Linked DNA regions of Homo sapiens: region 1 is linked to region 2. Evidence: promoter capture Hi-C in 16 types of primary human blood cells and fetal thymus (Javierre and others, 2016). All regions are on one chromosome and are shown on one strand. The core of a region is centred on a gene start or on the middle of the fragment in contact, and the rest is flanking DNA. Distances in the headings are between cores, read along the strand shown.

Region 1 (3,822 bases), core at 1,138-3,637, 380 kb after region 2:
AAAAATACAAAAAAATTAGCTAGCCGGGCATGGTGGCGGGCTCCTGCAGTCCCAGCTACTCGGGAGGCTGAGGCAGAATGGCGTGAACACGGGAGGCGGAGCTTGCAGTGAGCCAAGATCAGGCCACTGCGCTCCAGCCTGGGCGACAGAGCGAGACTCCGTCTCAAAAAATAAATAAAAATAAAAAAGAGTGGCTGAGGATACAACCAGCTGTAAAGTTTCCAAAGTTTTCAAAGATTTTGTACAAGGCGTCTGTGCCTAGGAAAGATAAAAAGCAGAGTGGCACAAATATTTCTTTACAATAGAGTGCCAAGAGGTTATTCTCTGCCTTCACAAACAGATAACAAATCTTTAAAGAGTTCCACAAACATGGGTAACTAGCGAAACCCAATCTCTACAAAAAAATAAAATAAAAAGAATTAGCTGGGCATGGCAGCACACACATTTAAGCCTAGCCACTCAGGAGGCTGAGGCAGAAAAATCACTTGAGTCCAGGAGTTGGAGGCTTCAGTGAGCTATGACAATGTCACTGCATTCCAGCAGCCTGGATGACAGAGCAAGATCCTCTTAAAAACAACAAGTCAGGCGTGGTGGCTCGCCCCTGTAATCCCAACGCTTTGGGAGGGAGAGGCGGGTAGATCACGAGGTCAAGAGATCAAGACAATCCTGGCCAACATGGTGAAACCCCGTCTCTACTATAAATACAAAAATTAGCCAGGTGTAGTGGCGCACGCCTGTAGTCCCAGCTACTTGGGATGCTGAGGCAGGAGAATCGCTTGAACCCAGGAGGCGGAGGCTGCAGTGAGCCGAGATCACGCCACTGCACTCCAGCCTGGCAACAGAGCGAGACTCCAACTCAACCAAAAAAAAAAAAAAAAAAAAAAAAAAGCCGGGTAGGGAAAAAACAACAGGCCAGGCGTGGTGGCTCACGCCTGTAATCCCAGCACTTTGGGAGGCCAAGGCGGGGGATCACGAGGTCAGGAGTTGGAGACCAGCCTGACCAACATGGTGAAACTAAAATACAAAATACTAAAAATACAAAAATTAGCCGGGGGTGGTGGCGCGGGTCTGTAATCCCAGCTACTCAGGAGGCTGAGGCAGGAGAATCGCTTGAACCCGGGAGGCAGAGGTTGCAGTGAGCCAAGATCGCGCCACTGCACTACAGCCTGGGCTACAGAGCGAGACTCCTTCTTAAAGAAAAAACAAAAACAAACAAAACAACAACAGCAACAACAAAGAGTGCCCTCCAATGTTCTGTGAAAAAATGATTAATTAAAATATTGTGCCTGGAGTACGCAATAAAAGACAAATAGCTGACAGTGTTGTGAACTGAAGAGGTGATGGTGGTTTTTATGAATTTTGGAAAGAAACTGAAAATTTAGTATTTTATTGCAGGCCAGAGTCAGGCTGGGAGAACAGAGGAGTGGATTTAAGACCCTGCTTTCCATGTTATTTGGAAAATGCAGGGGAAAAGCAGTCTCTTGTGCAGTGTTAAAATAATTAGCAGGCAATTAGACTGAGGTGGCTCTAGTGTCTTGCGTTTCTACATGAAAAAGAATATTAATAGCTCAAATGCATTTCTTGTTAATGACTGCCTTAAGTAGAAACAAAATCCAAGTTCAACCAATCACAAAACTCCAATTAATCAGTAATTAAATAACCAGGAAATTTCCACCTGGACAGTCCAAATAAGGTGACTGTAACTGTCGTCAATTATTAAATTTGGCTTGCTTCCTCATGCACCTTACAAAAAAGTTTTTCCTTCAAGCACCTCCTCCATAAACCCACAAGCCACACACCATAGCTGGGCGCTCTCCCATTCATGAAACTCCCTTTCCTCAAACTCTTCAAAGCTTTAAAAGTGACTCCATTTTTCACAGGAAAAAGGATGGACTGCACAGCTAAGATAAGCCCCATGGAACAGCTCTTCCCACGCATGTTTCGCACACCGATTTGGCTTCTCCCCGATGACCCTCCCCTCTGGACAAAGCACACAGTCTGGGGGACCCGCGGGGCTGCGGCTTCATAGCCGCCCAGAGAGGCCGGGGCGGAAGCCGCGGCGCAGTGATGGGAGGAGAATCCCGCGGCGGCCTGGCCCCGCCCCTACCCAGAGGTGACAGATCCCACAGGTGCCAGCCGGGACTCCGGGCCGCGGACTCTAGTGCTGACGCCGGGAGGCCGGACCGCCATCTTGGAACACCCTCCCGGGAACTCTCACCGTTTTCCGGCTTTCGGGGTGTCCTGGCATCTTAGCTATGTAACTCCCAGTACCTGCAGGTCACAGGGAAACCAGACACTGCAGCAGCAGAGTCACCAGGGCCTCCCGCAGCTGGGGATAAATAGCCGAGAATACGGGACCAAAGCTCCAGCTGGAGCACAAGACAAAGGCCCCGCCAGATCCCGGAAACCCCCTCCGCCTCTCAAGCTGCGCTCCTGATTGGACAGTTCCCACGTCAATGTCCCTGATTGGACAGGGCTCCAGGACCCGCCTCCTTTGGTTATGAGTGACAGGAGATGAGGTCAGCAAAGGGGTTGAATGAGACTATTAACAAAATGGGCAATTTTTTTTGTATCCTTCCAAAATTGTTCCATGTCTTTCCATGCATACCATCTTTAATAAAGGGCGCACTCTTAAGCCAATCTGCAATCTCTGTTCCTGAGTGTCTAAACAACGTCATCATCATCTTCTGTTGGAGAAAAACCTGAAGATGAGTTTTCCTCCCAAAGCACAGAACAGTCAGAAGCCGAGGCGTGCTTGGGAATGCTGGCGGGTGGAAAGGGGAGGCGCATTCCGGTGCGCCTGTGGAACTGTCCTTGCAAGCAGGACCCAGGTCCAGAACAGCTATGCAATGCATGTGTTTCTGACCAAAGGGGGCCTGCTGTCCACCCGCCTCTTCTGCTGGGCAGGGCAGCGCATGGTTGGGGTATTTACACCCAGGCAGGTGTCCCAGGCCAGTCCCCTGTCAACCCATCATAATAAAAAAGTCAGAATCTATTTTCAAAAGTATATTCAAAAGCATATGTTTAGGATACCTACCTGAGAGCATAGACTAAAGTTGCCCTGATTATACATTCCAACTAGTAACCATTACAAGTGGGTTTTAAGAAAAGAGGCAGTTCCTAAAATTTTCATCAAAAATTTACATTAAAATCCAGAAGTCACTGACTGGCTATACATTGTTCTTTGTATCACAAATTCCAGATGAGACAGCTAGTTAGGAACAACATACCTTTAAACAATTGCCCCTGGGAAAGGGTGTGGAGATGTGTCTCAAATCCCATACTCAAGTCTCTCTGGGCCAGAAAAATCTTCCGTACCTCACAGAGCTTCAGCTACTTAGAGCTATTCTTTTCTTATCTCCATAGTCAGTACACTTGGACCCTTAACAAGAAATAAGTTCAAACAGAAAATTTGCCAAGCCACAGGAATAATGGCCTGTCAGTGCCCTTCAGGAAGCTGATTGTCACTTTCCTTCAACACCCTTTCCACAGCTTCCCCCCAACACACACACCCTGGATCCCGGGAGAGAGGGGCTGAGACGCACCCAGACACACCTCGCTGCCCCTCCTGCAAACATACACCCACACACAGACACACAGACAAAGACACAGACACAGGCAGCTTGAAGGAGAGCAAGAGAGAGGGATGGAGACATAGAAACGGAGGGAGAGAAAGACAGTGATAGAGAGGCAGAGTGAGTCAGGATTGAGAGAGAGAGAGAGAGAGAGAAGGCTACAGAAAGAGCACGAGGTGGAGGGGGAAGAAGAAGAGAGAGGATGAGGGACTTACAGAGCCATAGAGCCTTGGAGAGGGAGTGTTCT
Region 2 (3,929 bases), core at 621-3,120:
GCTGGGCTGCCGTCTGCACTCCCTCTGCTGAGTCAGCCCCATTTCAAGGGAGGTGGCCCAGCCCCCTGAGCAAAAGAGGACAAACAAGTGCCCTCTCCCCACAGGAGGGGGGTCCTATGGATGGGGAAGGATGTGAGACCAGTCACACCTAGTGGAAAAGCAGAACCAGGGGCCAGGGCTCCCACACAGGACATCATGCCTTGGAGAAAAGCCACCACTCGCTGGAGTTGGATGGGTCTCAGATGGGGAAACCGAGGCCCCGAGAGGGAGTGACTGCTCAGGCCCGGTCTCCTCCCTTCCCCACCCTTGCTTTGCCCCACATGCACCTGAAGCTCACCTGGCAAACTGGCCATCAGACACTCAGAAAGGGTATGCTCACAGGGGTGACCCACATGGCCAGGCTTTCCCAGGGAAGCAGGGCCGGGAGCCCTAGGGGTGGCGAGGTTGGCTCAGATCCTCGTGGGGGCCATTTTCTGCTGCTCCTATCTTCTTTGTTTTTCCTCTGAGGACCCTCATATTCGCCTCTGTCACTGCCACTGGCGGGATTTCACAGCCTTCCGGGGGCATGTGCTCCGCCCCCCAGGTTCTGCGGTCACTGTGCCAGAATCAGTCCCTGCAGGCACAGAGGGCACTGCCTAGAGACCTGGCACCGCAGCCCAGGTCTCTGAGGCCCCTGCAGCACGTGGCTGGGCAGGCTCGCTGGCCCTGTGTCCTCAGCCTTGGCAGCCTAGCCCGTGTTGGAGGCACCATCCTGCACTGACCAGGGTCTGCAGGTGGCAGGCATGCCACCGCCAGCCTGGACCCCAAGCCCTGTTCTTGTGTCCCTTGTTGCATGGCACAGAGGCCCCATCCAGGGAACTTATAAGCCTTCTCCTGGATGCCACCCCCAGGTCTGTCTGGAATGTGTGCACCTGTATCCTAATGCCAGCTCTGGGTCCTCTGACACCATTCTGCTTCAGAAGCAGCTCCGAATCCGTATCGCAGAGGGGACGAGTCCCCGGGCTGTGACTGAGCGCTTCCAGCTGCCTGGGTGTGCACCTTCCATCCCAGGAGTCCTCTTTCTCCCCGTCCCGGCCAGGACACAGGCTCTGAGAAGGGCGTTGCCCGATGGCTGGTGTTTCATTGACTTAGCCGCTAGCTCCACTCCCACAATTTAAGAATGGGGAGACCATCAGGACCCCAAAAGGTAGAGCTACTCACCTCACAGCCCCAGCAGGCTACGTCGCTTCATTCCCAGGCCGAAAGCGGCCACAGTCCCTGCCAGAAAGGAGCGATTCTCTGGCCCCGCTCCTTGAGGGGGTCAGCATGCGCAAGAGGCGCAGGCATCACCGGCTGGCCCGACTCCTCCTCACCAAGCTTCCCCCGGAGCAGCCGCGCAGCGCCCAGCTCGGGGCAGACGGCTGGGTCCTCTGTGGAACCATCCCCGACCGTCCCGGCCTGGAGCCCCGCCGGCGGCTAGCCCGGCGGCCAACGCCTCCCCTCCCCTCCCCCTCAATCCCGCCCCGGGGGCCGCCCCAAGCTCCCACTGCAGCGCCCCCAACGCTCTACCCGCTTCCCGATGCCCGCCTCCGGCCCCCCAATGCCGTCCCGCCGTGGTCGCCCCGGGTTCTCGCACGCCCCGCCCTCGGTTCCCACCGCTCTCCGCCTCCCCTTCCTCCATCCCCGCCGGGCAGGGCGCGCCCGAGACCCGCGCCGGGAGCGGCGGCCGGGGCCCCGAGTGGCCGGGAGGGGCTGGCGGGCTGGCGCGCGCGGCTCGGGTTTCGGCCCGCCCCCGGCGCCGGCGTGATCCCCTCCCGGGCGCGGGGCGGGGCCGGGCCCAGCTGGCCGCGCTCCGGGCGCTATAAGAGGGCGGCGGCCGCGGCGCGCCCTGCGCGGAGCTGGGAGCGCGATGGTCGGCCGCCGAGGCGCGGCAAGATGCTGGATGGGTCCCCGCTGGCGCGCTGGCTGGCCGCGGCCTTCGGGCTGACGCTGCTGCTCGCCGCGCTGCGCCCTTCGGCCGCCTACTTCGGGTAGGTGCCTTCGGCGGCCGGCGCGCACTGGTGGGCGGGGGCGGCGGGGCCGGGGCGGGGTCGTCCGGAGTCCCCGAGGCACCCGGGGTGGCTGGGGCCGGGGCGCGGCGGGGCCGCCGGGTTGCCTGGCGCTGTTTGTTTGCGGCGCGCGCGTCGCTCCGTCCGCTGCGCGGCACGGCTAGAGAGGCGGGTGGACCCGTCCGGCTTGCGCCGGGCCGCGGTCCTCCGTGACCGCAGAGTCGTCGTCGTCGTAGTCGCCGCCGTGAGCAGGACTGCCTCGCGCTTAGGGACTGGGATCAGGTCCCGACTTCCTTGGGCCGCCGTGTCCTTGCCAAAAGGCTGGAGCCTGAGTCCTCAGCCCCTGGCCATCGCCCACCTAGCAGCTTCCCCCCCTTTCTCTTCTCGAGAAGTTAATTTAACAATAACAAAAATACGTACAAAATCCAGATGTTCCTCGCGCTGAGCCCCAAACGGAGAGAGAGAGAGAAAGAGAGAAATCCTCCAAGCTGGAGGAATTTATTTTTCTTGCGCTTTGCTTCTGACTCTGTGGCCCGGGCCCCGGCCCGCGGGAGCGCGTCCATGGAACCTGGCCGGGAGCGCAGGGCCCGGCCGGGGCGTCCCGCGGTGTCATTGCCCGTGCTCACGTGTCTCTGCAGCAGCGCTTTGCCGGGCTGTCGGCGCGTCTCTCTCTTCCTTTCTTTCCCTTCCTTCTTCCCTCCCCCTCTCTGAGGTCTGGGATGCCCAGTCCTGCGACCTTTACAGGGACCCTCGCTGCGCTTTGGGCGCGCTGAGGTGCAGGGTGGCGCCGTGCGAGGCAGCGCCCCGGGCCTCCCCGCCACCCTCCAGCCTCCTACCCCGAGCGCCGCCGCTGGGAGCCCTGGCTGGCCTTCGGATCCCAGCCCCCGACCTGGACGCCCTGGGCCGCTCCCTCAGCCGGGCCGCCGCCCTCCGCCGGTCACCTGTTCCCGGCCCTCTGGCCTGAGCGCCAGCGCGCGGCGGGCTGGCCGGCAGAGGGCCCCGTTGGTCCAGGAATCTGGCACCCGCCCGGGCAGGGAGAGGCCGCCTGGGCCGAGGAGCCCTGCAGGTGTATCCTGTTCTCAAAGAAAATAAAATATTTTCATGGGAAACTTTCCCTTTGTGTTTTTCTTTCTCTCCCTTTCTTCTCTCTGTTCCTTTCTTCTGGGTCGTCTTCCAGGGTCAGCCCGGTGTCTCAGTTCCCTGGGGCCCCCACCCGCAGCCCTCTCCTGGCTCCAACTGTGGGTACGGCCCTGGGCCTGGGCTGGCACGCCACTGCACGCCATCTGTGCAACCCGTAGCCTCACCCGGGAGGGCAGGAGGGAGGGCCACAGGTCCGCGGTGACTCACCGTGGCCTTGTCAGCCAGCTGTGCTTCCCTGCTCTCCGGCCCAGCGGAGGCTCTGCTTCTTGGGCTGGGGACACACCCTGGGCTTGTCCAGGCTGCAGCGGCTTTGTCCCTGCTGTGATCCGATTCCTGGAGACGGGGTGGCGCTGGGTCTTGGCCTCTCCTTCTCTGACCTATCTCTGGGCTTTGTGCCCTAGAGAAGGTCAAGGGGCTCTGCTGCTTTGTGTGCGTGTGTTTCAGCTCTCTTGCAGACAGTAAGTCCAGGCTGGTGCCAGGCGCATAGCAAGGACTTAAGTGCTGTTGTGGCTTCTCTGGCCAGGCCCCCTTGGCCCTGCTTCTTGGCTCCAAAGGACCCATCAAGGGAGAATTCCTGAGTCCTGTCTGAGGGCAGCTCTCCATGTAGCTGCCCTGTGGGAAGTCCAGAGGGCAAGTGTGCTGCCTTTGGGGACAGCTGGCATTGCAGAGGGCAGCTAGGACTCTGTTTGACTGATGGAGAATGAGCACCTTCCTGAACCAGGGGCTGGGGGGGCATCCTGGGTCAGGGCAGGCCAGGTTCCA

Evidence for each region. Contacts are between HindIII fragments. The CHiCAGO score rates a contact against its expected background, and 5 or more counts as called.
Region 1: the fragment with the promoter of ZNF678 here is called in contact with the fragment with the promoter of WNT9A in region 2 in 6 of 17 cell types (total CD4 T cells, megakaryocytes, endothelial precursors and 3 more); the score reaches 10.1 in total CD4 T cells.

What each region holds. Positions count from the first base shown.
Region 1 is chr1:227,562,121-227,565,942 of GRCh38, reverse strand. ZNF678 (zinc finger protein 678) reads right to left here and starts at 2,387. Exons shown (of 4, transcript NM_001367909.1): 1 at 2,219-2,387. RefSeq lists an enhancer at 2,152-2,431. The HindIII fragment of the contact is 3,691 bases long and covers 1,856-3,822 here.
Region 2 is chr1:227,945,873-227,949,801 of GRCh38, reverse strand. It overlaps WNT9A (Wnt family member 9A), which reads left to right and starts at 1,870. Exons shown (of 4, transcript NM_003395.4): 1 at 1,870-2,009. The coding sequence starts at 1,915. It overlaps LOC124904533 (a long non-coding RNA gene), which reads right to left. Exons shown (of 2, transcript XR_007066912.1): 1 at 3,375-3,929; 2 at 2,499-3,100. RefSeq lists silencers at 1,756-1,835, 2,939-3,048 and an enhancer at 1,916-1,965. The HindIII fragment of the contact is 8,120 bases long and covers 1,359-3,929 here.